Regions from separate parts of the Homo sapiens genome. Here all the other regions are linked to region 1. Evidence: promoter capture Hi-C in human tissues and cell types (Jung and others, 2019). All regions are on one chromosome and are shown on one strand. The core of a region is centred on a gene start or on the middle of the fragment in contact, and the rest is flanking DNA. Distances in the headings are between cores, read along the strand shown. Region 1 holds the start of ZNF532 (zinc finger protein 532). Region 2 overlaps LMAN1 (lectin, mannose binding 1). Region 3 has its middle 9.2 kb from the start of SEC11C.

Region 1 (3,310 bases), core at 490-2,989:
ATGCCCACTTCGAAGTAGGGGAAAATTTTATTTTCAGTCATGTCTTCTATGGGCTCCTCTTGACTGTACTTTTACCAAAAACCAGCAGAAAGGCAGGACCAGTTCTATCTGTTGTTGAGATCACACTGGATCCCATTCTGGAGCTGCTGGTTTCCTGTTTGGGGAAGTTGCAGTTCTTTTCACAAGGAACCCAAGGCAAAATGTTGAGTGTTCTCCTGCAAGCCCCCTCAGCCTTTGTTCTTCACTTTGCTACTCTCCTCACTCCTTCCTTCTCTCCTCTCCTCTCCAACCTCTGGTTTTGGAAGGTGCATTAAAATGCCTGCTCAAACCTAACTGCGATCTTTAAAGGCATCAGACATTTTCTACCACCCATTCCAGTACAGCTTTGAGTTAACAGGCATCTTTTCACAGATGAAGCCAGACTACCCGGCTTCCCCCTGGTATTGCATTAGTATTCCACATTAAACATATGCCACAAAGAATCCAATGGCGAACTCACCGTCAACAGCCCCCAAAATCAATAAAAGACATTCCACCACTTGAGTCGGAGTGAAAAACCTTTCAGGTTAACACAAGAGAGCAAGGTAAAAGAAAGGTGATGAATGAACAAAAGGCAAATCTACCTTCAGACTCCTCAAATCCTAAAAAGGTGGCTAGGCTGCCTCGATTTGGTGAAGCCCTTCCTTTTCTTATAATCATCGGGAAAATGCCACATGTGTACTGCTTTCGTCTTATGCAAAACAGCACATTCTCCACAAGGCCCTGACGCCTACCATTCTCCACACTCGCTTCCTTCCAGGCCTGACTCTCCCAATTGCCCAGACACATGCGATTTAATGAAGGCATTCAGATTTCGCCTTGATCGCAATACCATCATAAAGTCACTCTAATCCCATTAAACTGGGATAACATTAAGAGCATTTCTTCTCCACTCTGAACCCAATTTTATCTCCTGGGTAGCAATCCACGGTCCGTCTGTGTCTAAATGGATCTGCAAATAAATATTTAAATTCATGCTCAAAACAGCGTATCTCACCTTGTGAACCTTGACCTTTTGGAAAGACTTTAGACCAATGTTCAGTTACTGTCACACGGCTGCATTCTCAGCAAATAGGAAAGGGTTAAAAGCAGCCCCAGTCAACAGGCCTACAAGGAAAAAAAAGACAGCATGTATGGCTAACAGCATCACTGGAATGCATTTATGTTCATTTCCTAGAACGATATTGTTACCTTTTGGCCTTCATAATAGTCAGAAGCATCCCCAACACCCTTTAGTAGCTTCTAAAAGAAAAAGCACAAGACAGAACATACCCTGCAAGAGAAAAAAAGCATGCAAAGTAGCATTCTCCAGCAACAAACAAACTACCATTACAAACCCCTCAGTTCATTTTGGTTTTGTTTTGTTATAAACACCGAGAAAGAGAGAGAGAGACTGCATCAACCAAGTGTCCCCACCCTAGCAAGGCACATTTTTTTCTCTAATAAGGGTCATAAATCTCAGCTCCTTGTCCATCCCTTAAGCAAAAGAAAAAGGCAGGAAAAGCCCAAGTAATCTCAGACCCTGCAAACCTGCACCTTTTTTTCCATCTTCTCTACCCAGAATCTTTTAGGGCTCCATTAGTCACGTACCAGTGCTGTGTGGTGTCTAAGTGTGCATTCACATACTGTGTAGGGATGGTACCTTCCTGCAAGCTCCTCTGCTTTTGGCTGCCATGAAGGGAGGAAGCTGCTATCCTACTGTAGTAGCTCAGTGACTGCATTGTGTTCAGGAGCTGATCTGCCTCAAACCAGTTTCAGCCGGTTCTGGTCACCCTACATAAAAAAGCTATGGCAACCCTCGCTGAGTTGCCAACAAGTCCCTGAAAATCATCAGCACAGGGGGGATCTCGCTGGGGTTTGCTCTTCCCTCTTAGGTCTTCCTGAGGAGGAGAAGGTCATCGTGTGTCCCCCCACCCCACGAGCACACAGCCTTGGAAATGCTCACCTCGCAAGCACCCCAGAGCCCCTCAGGGCCCATCCCCCCTCCCCTCCACCCCACAGCCCACCGCAGACACTGTTTCCCCCTCCTTCTCCTTCCCCCACTTACCTCCCACAACCTGGCTCAGATCTTTGTGTACGTGTGTGTCAGTGTGTGCTCTCTGTGTTGGTGGCTGACAAAGAGCCCCCAAGAAAGCGAGCTATGTGTGTCTGCTCACACGGGATGCGTCGGCTGCAGAGCCGGCCTGGCCTCCTAGCACAGTGGTGCTGGCTTGTTGACCAGGCTCCTCTCTGCTGTCACCCCCACCCCACCCAGCCCCCTCCTCCCTTCCGTCCCTCTCCTCTCTCTCCCAGCCCTGTCACCACCACCAGCAGCCCCCCAGTCTCCTCCTCCTCCTCCAACCTTCTCTTCTTTCAAGCACCTGGGGGGAGAAGTCCAAATCCCTTCACCTCGGGGGAAGAAAACTGGGGCTGTCTGGGGAGGGGGCGGGGGGCGAAGGCAGGGCCAGTGGGAGAGGGGGCACGGAGGCCTCTGGAAACGCATCTGTGCCCGGCCGGCGCCGGCGGGGGGAGTAGGAGAGCCGCGCTCACGTGGCCCCCGTCTCGTAACCTGCGGGGCCTAGCCCGGGCGGTTCCTCCTCGGCCCCCCAAGCCAGCTGGCGGGGCGCGAAGGCCGGCTGTCCCCAAGGCCAGGGTGGGACAGGCCACTGCGGGCAGGCCCAGGGGCCTGAGCCTCACGCGCTCACCCCGGCCCGCAGGAGTGGGCACGAGGGGCCGCACCCCGCCTCTGCCCGGCGCCCACCCGCGCCCCTGGGTCCGGCTGCCCTGCGCCCCTCGTTCGCCCCGGCCGCCTCCCGCCGCCCCGCACCCCCAGAGGCGCACACCCACCCCCTTCCCGGGGTTGGCCTTCGCGGCGGTCAAGCCCGGGCGTCTGGGCCGCAGCTCGGATGACCTTTGTTCAGCGCGGCGCCGCCGGCGGCTGCTGCTGTGGCTGCTGCTGCTGTCGTCGGAGCGGCGGCGGCGGCGGCTTCCATGTTACGGGCGTGTCATCTGCGTTCCCGCTGCCGGGGTCTGTGTGTGCGTGTGCGGTGGAGCGGCCTCGCCGCCGGGCCGGGCGGCGGCGGCGGCGGCGGCTCGGCCCGGGCGGCGAGCGAACAAAAGGGAGCGCGGGCGAGGGGGAGGGGGCGGCCGGTGGGGGAAGGGAGCTCCGGGACCGGGCGGCGGCAGCGCGAAGCCCCGCGGCCGGCGGGCGCCGACGCCCGGCCGCTGCGGAGCCCCGAGTCCGGCGGCGGCGAGAAGGCGCCCCGCGGACCTGCCAAGTCTCGCCCATACG
Region 2 (3,310 bases), core at 222-2,721, 490 kb before region 1:
TTGCAGACACTATCAAGCGGTCCTGTGGTTAGAATCCTGTAACTGCCAGGTGGAGGTGGGGAAGGGCAGGAACATTTTCTCAGAGTTGAGCTGTGCCCTACAGGGAGATCAGGAAGTTCCTGGGAGTTGGGGGAAGAGGGTGTGTGTGTGTGCGAGTGAGTGGGTGTACTCCAAGCACAGAAAGCAGGCATAGGCCCTTGAGAGAGCTTGAAATATTTTGGAAAGGCATGTAGTTTGGTGTGGCTGGGAGATAGAAGAGATCAGTGAGCAGTGAGGTTGAAAGGGCAGTAACAGGCCTTGCACAGCTTCCTGTAGTTTAACCCATAAGAAGCTTTTAAAAATGTTTAAAGGGTTTTAAGCAGGAAGTGAAATTATCAGATTTGCAATTTAGAAAGATGACTTAGGTCCCAGTATTCTTAGTACCAGTTTTCTTGGGGTTAGGGGTGAACACAGTTGTTGAGTCAAGGAGAGTTCCTGAATATAGCCAATTGGACAGCTAATTGGTACTATTTACTAGCAAAGAAGCAGCACATTTGTTTGTGTTTTATCTGTTTGGGGGAGGAATGGGAAATCAGAGGGTTGGTAATGAGTTTAGTTGTAGGTAAATTGAGGTTAGCATAACATATAGGTGGAGATATCTAACTGGCAGTTATGATAACTAAGATCACTATGCATTGTAAACTTTGCTTTTTAAAGATGCCATTAATACCTGGTTATATAATACTTAAAAGTAAAAAAAATAGTGTATGAATTTTTCTTTCACCTAAATCATGAGCTAGACTTACACTCCTGGGTCTAAATCTCTGAGAAAGTTAGTTCTGTGGAAAACTGTATTGGCTTAGTCTTAATTCCAAGCTAATTTAGAGATCTTAGAATAGAGCAAGTGTCCAATGTATTATAATTAGCTTGGGTTTGAATTCCACTATAATTATTCACCCTGTACAGTTTCATTAGAGTCATCAGTAAGTCTTGCTTACCTGCATGTAGCAAAGCCCAGACATCAAGCATGGTGGGTGCAGACTGTCCGTGTGACCCAACACCGTGAGGCTGTGAGCCCTGGCAGCACTCCAAAACAATAGCCTTGCAAAACGTACTCCCCAGAAAGGGTTCCACAATTGATGAGATTGGTCACTACTCTGCATATTAGCACATTAAAGATTTCTTTATGAAGGATCCTTTATAAAGAAAGGATAAATAAACCTTTATTAGACCTCACATTTCCCAGACTGACTTAACTATGGAATTTTTTTTCACCTAATGTCTATGAGTGATCATGGAGCTAGTGTTTTCAGGTACACGTTTTGAAGAGACTGGCTGGACACGTGACTGCTACTTATTGGTTTTCACCTCTCTGTACATCTCAGTCTGGTAATAATTCCTTTTCTTTCTACTTGTTAAAGTCATACTTAGCTTTGAGCACACAAATTCAGATCCCTTTTCTATCAGATTTCCTAAACAGCTCATAATGATCTGTCTCTCCTAAACTCTTAGAGTATTTTTTTTTCTCTAATGCTTATTTGGCCTTGAGATATGTTGTACTGATTTGCTTATTAACTATATGTATATCTCTTCTTATCAATATGATTGTAAACTTCTCACAATAGGCATATCCTGTATTTCTCCTAGTTCCTAATATTGTGCCAATGTGAAGTGCTCAAGAAGTATTTATTTTCATGAGTACTTGCACCCTAGCTTGTCCCAGTTGTTTCCACATTGGAGGGAAAAACAAAGTAAGAGGAGGTTGAAAGCAATAAGTGCTGTTGGTGGGGGAAACACAGCCAAAGCAAGAGATCTTAAATATTGCAAGTGTAGTCTTTAACAATGGTTTGAAACCATAAGGTGAATAAGGAAGGTTATTGATGATCTCATAAAGAAGTAATAATCAGTGGACAGTTTGTACCTAGGCTTTCAGTTACAGTCCTTCCTAACATTCCTGCTAACTCACAGTACAATGAAATGTGTTACGTCCTTTAAAAAAAAATTGGGGCCGGGCGCGGTGGCTCACACATGTAATCCTAGCACTTTAGGAGGCCGAGGCGGGCGGATCACGAGGTCAGGAGATCAAGACCATCCTGGCTCACACGGTGAAACCCCGCCTCTACTAAAAATACAAAAAAATTAGCCAGGCTTTGTGGCGGGAGCCTGTAGTCTCCGCTACTCGGGAGGCTGAGGCAGGAGAATGGCGTGAACCCTGGAGGCAGAGTTTGCAGTGAGCCGAGATCACACCACTGCACTCCAGCCTGGGCGACAGAGCGAGACCCTGTCTCAAAAAATAAATAAATAAATAAAAATAATTGGAACTAGACAATGAAGACTCATGCTGGATTTTCAGTTTGTTAGAATTCAAGGAAAAAAATACTGAACAATTGGAGGATTTTAGTATTGTAATTTGAATGTAATAATCTACAGTCTTTTTAAGACTCAAAGGCAAATAACTTCCTGATTGTTGATTCTAATTTAAAAGGCTCTGTGGAGGAGGACCAGTTGTAAATGATGTAAAATGAAATAGGAATATTACTAATCACAGGAAACATATTAATATGAACCAAATGCTAAATGATCTTTTAAAATTAATTATTTTAAACTAATTTTTAGTTCACATGTTTCCATTCTACAGTATATAGAGAGTAACTCTTCATATTGACAGATTTTATTCTCTTGCTGAAAATTTGGACAGAATACCAGAACATTTTGCCTGTGTGACTGAATCTTAAGTCTCTGACAAAATTTTGACTCTAGAAGTAATGACTCAAGTTCCCTTACTCTGGTGCCTTGGGCCTTCTCCTGCAACCACCCTGAACCTCAGTGACTGTTGTTTAGGGTGGGACTCGTGAGAGGATTATTAGAAATGAAATGTATTGAAGAGGCTGAACCACTGCTTGACTGGGATAATGAGAAAAGCATTCATGTGTCAGGTGGATTCCTGTGCTTGCCTAGGATTCTAAGATTCTGTTAAGAAATTTAGGATCATTCCTTCAAATATACATTTTGCAAAGTAGAAACGTACATCTTTTTAGTTTTTTCCTTCTCTGCCTTGTCAGTATGACTTCTGTCACTTTTGTTCTCTGCTAACCTGTGACAGTCCAGATACCTCACTAATTTAATTAAGAGGAGCTCACTACTTGTTGAGACAATCTGTTTAATTCTCAACCAGCTGCAGATAAAATTGTAAATTTAACCTCTTGGTTTTAGCTGTCACTGGGATCTGAGAACAAGTCTGATCCCTCTGCTGCATGAACCATTCCAAGGGAGTAATGATGACTCCCTAGGTCTTCTTGAGAGAAGGCAAACCATATTCCATTTTAGAAAG
Region 3 (3,310 bases), core at 245-2,744, 270 kb before region 1:
CTCTGCCCTGCTCTGGTTGTCCTCTCTCCTGCTCTGGCTGAGCCCAGGGCTTTTATGAACCTCAGAGGGGAGGAAGTATTTGCTGATTGGTCCATGAGGAGCTATGGCCAGGCCTGGAAGAGGCACCACGAGTCCCTACTCTGGTCTGCAAGACTGGCAGTCCAGCCCCCAGCCTTCAGGCCCTGGCCTGAACCCTGCCATTCATGGCCCCAGGGCTCCACCCCAACCGCCCACTCTGAGAGCAGAGCCAGCACAGGGAGTGGAGAGAGGCCAGGCAGCAGGAGTAGACACCTCTGAGCCTGCAGGGGTTGGGGGGGGGGATTCCCAGGCCCCCCAGGGTGCAGGCTGGAGAGACGCCCAGGTCCTGCACCTCTGTGTGTTGCTATTCCAGATCTGTATTTGAGCAACACAGCCCCTGGCACTTGGTATACAGCTGTTGACTTAAATAATGCTTTTCTCCCTCATATCAATTTATAAGAACCACCAGAACCAAACCACCCAAACCACCAGCCACAGTTTGGGTGGCTGCAGCAACAGGCAGGGAGCTCCTTCCCCAATTCAGAAGAAGTAGGGCTCCCACCAGCTCCATGGGGTGTGCAGCCCCAGCCACACCTCTCTGCTACAGCTAGTGTGATGGCAGCCGCTGCCATCAATTCGATCTCTTAAATTCTGCATGCCTGGCAGCAAATACCATGCCTGGCAGGTAACAGGTGCTCAATTTTTTAAAAAACTGATACAATAAATAGTCTAATCAATTTCTTGCCTTTCAGCTCCAAATCCATCCTTCTTCATTCTGCTTTGTGATACTGGAAACATTTGTGCATTGTCAGCTGGACTAACTTTAAATATTGTTAAGCTTTCTCAGTAGATGGTGCTGGAAAGACACTAGAGGAGGAAGGGGCTTCTGTTTCTAGTTCCAGTGGCCTGTGGGACACCCAGGGGTACATGCTTTTCAGCAAGTTTTCCCAGTACCACTTAGAGTGGCTTACTAGCAAGTGTAACTTATACCTCAGGGGGTGGCTTCCCAGGGAGTCTCATCAGCACCAAAGTATGCAGTTTCCGCTTTGCCAGTCCCAGTCTGTCACAGCTCAGATAACTAATACTCAGTCAGGTAGTGTATACCTTAGCTTTTTTCCTAAGCTTTCCCAGTGGAACATGTAGTCATTTATAACAGTGACTATACACTGGGGAAAAGGAACTACACAGATATTTTGGGAATTAGCAGACATTGTCTCTGTATTGACTAACTCCTAGAGACCTCAGATGTGACTGTGCTCACAAGTCAAAGTGAAGGCTTATAGCAGTCAGGTGGCAGATTAAGCCTTAGCCCAAATCTGATTCACAGTGGGACCAACTGGTCTATGCTCCCTTTCCCTCAATTGTTTTTTCCTCACCTCTTGGATGTATATTTGGAATTGATATACTTGTCACTCTCAGAATCCCCAAGTTCTTTCTCTGACCCATAGGTAAGGGCCATTATGGTAGGAGGGACTAAGTAGAAGTCCATAGAAAGTTCCCTCTTCACCAAGATAGTAAACCAGAAGCAATACTGCATCCCTGGGGGTGGAGGGGCAGGGAATTGCAGAAATCACAGCCACTATTAATGGACAAAATGATACAGAGTTTGTGATATCCATCACATTCCCACTTAACTCACCTGTTTGGCCTGTACAGAATATGGGTAAATGTTAGAGAATGGCTATGGATTATTATAAACTTAATCAAATGGTCATTCTAATTGTGTTGCTATTCCAGATCTGTATTTGAGCAACACAGCCCCTGGCACTTGGTATGCAGCTGTTGACTTAAATAATGCTTTTCCCCCTCATATCAATTTGTAAGAACCAGCAGAACCAATTTGCTTATACCTAGCAGGGCCAGTAGTACACCCACACAGTCTTATCTTGGGACTATGTCAACTTTCCTGCCATCTGCTACAATATAGTTACAGAAATCTTTATCATCTTGACACTCTGAAAAACATCACATTCTTCTACTACATTGATAAAATTATACTGATTGGAGCTGATGAATTGGAACTAGAAAGTGCACTAGATGCCTTAGTAAGAAATATGCAAACTAGAAGGCGTGAGAAAAAAAACACACAAAAATTTCACATCTGCCATCTTAGTGACGTTTCTGGTGGTTCAATGGTCTGGATAATGTTGAGGCGTTACTTCCGAGGTGAAAGATGAGTTGTTACATCTCTAAACAACTACTGCAAGTAAAGATGCACAACAGTTGGTAGGTCTTTTTGGAATCTGGAGACAACCTAGACCACTTTGAGTGTGTTACTTTAACCCATCTGTGACTCATAGGCTGCCAGTGACCCATAAGGCTGCCAGCTTTAAGAGGGGAAAATAAAAAGTGAAGCCTCTGTTTTAAGAAAGGACCATAAAAAGAGAAGACTCTGCAGCAAATCCAGCTCCTGTGAAAGCTGCTGTACCACTTGGATCTCATTATCCAACAGATACAATAATAACTCAAAGTGTGGATGACAAATAAGAAAGCTATATGAAAACTCTAGCAGCTACCAAAGGAAAATTGCAGAGCAGATTTTTAGGATTTTGGAGGAAACCTATGCCCTCCTCTATAGATAACTCTTCTGTTTAAGAAACAGCTTCTGTATTGCCATTGGTCCTTGGAGGGACTGAAAATCCAAATGTGGGACCTCAGGTGACCATGCACCCCAAGCTTTTTATCATGTACTGAGTATTTTATGACCCACCTAGTCATTAGGATGGATGTATGTAGCAGCATTTGCCACCAAGTGGAAATGGTATATAAGAGACCAAGCTTAGGCAGATCCACAAGGAATGAATAATTTGAATAAGCAGGTGGCTCAGACTCCTTCAATACTACTGCATTGCGTCCTTTCCAGTCCATACCTTCAGTCCCCTTCTGGGAATTTTCCCATCTGCAGTTAACTGATAAAGAAAAACCTCAAGCCTGGTTTACAATAGGGTCTGCATGATATGCTGGTACCACCTGAAAGTGGACAGTTGTGCCACCTAACAGCCCCACATAGAGGTGATTCCAAAGGACACCTGAAGGAAAAACATCTCAGTGGGCAAAACTTCAAGTAGTACATTGGGTTGAGAGGGGGCTAAAAGCATGGGTCTACAGTTATTTGTGGACGTTTGCTACTTATTTGACTGGATCATCAGGGATGTGGAAGGAACTGTATTGAAAAGTTGGTGACAAGGATGTCTTTGGAAAAGGTATGTGACAAATCTCTCAAAATGGGTGCAAATTATGAAGATATTTGTGTCCCAAGTGAATGCTTATCAAATGCATATCATACAAAGGA

The links. The method cuts DNA at HindIII sites, captures the fragments that hold promoters and counts their contacts. A contact is called where the count stands out against the background at its distance.
Region 2: a fragment that was not itself captured here is called in contact with the fragment with the promoter of ZNF532 in region 1 in 1 of the 25 tissues and cell types used here (hippocampus).
Region 3: a contact is called between a fragment that was not itself captured here and the fragment with the promoter of ZNF532 in region 1, in 1 of the 25 tissues and cell types used here (dorsolateral prefrontal cortex).

Annotation. Positions count from the first base shown.
Region 1 is chr18:58,863,306-58,866,615 of GRCh38, reverse strand. ZNF532 (zinc finger protein 532) reads right to left here and starts at 1,739. Exons shown (of 10, transcript NM_001375912.1): 1 at 1,231-1,739; 2 at 1,037-1,146. The HindIII fragment of the contact is 28,079 bases long and covers 1-3,310 here.
Region 2 is chr18:59,349,470-59,352,779 of GRCh38, reverse strand. All of the region lies in intron 5 of LMAN1 (lectin, mannose binding 1), which reads left to right. Among named protein-coding and RNA genes, the nearest start is that of LMAN1, 8.1 kb to the left of the region's middle. The HindIII fragment of the contact is 6,352 bases long and covers 1-3,310 here.
Region 3 is chr18:59,129,065-59,132,374 of GRCh38, reverse strand. No RefSeq gene overlaps it. Among named protein-coding and RNA genes, the nearest start is that of SEC11C, 9.2 kb to the left of the region's middle. The HindIII fragment of the contact is 3,715 bases long and covers 1-3,310 here.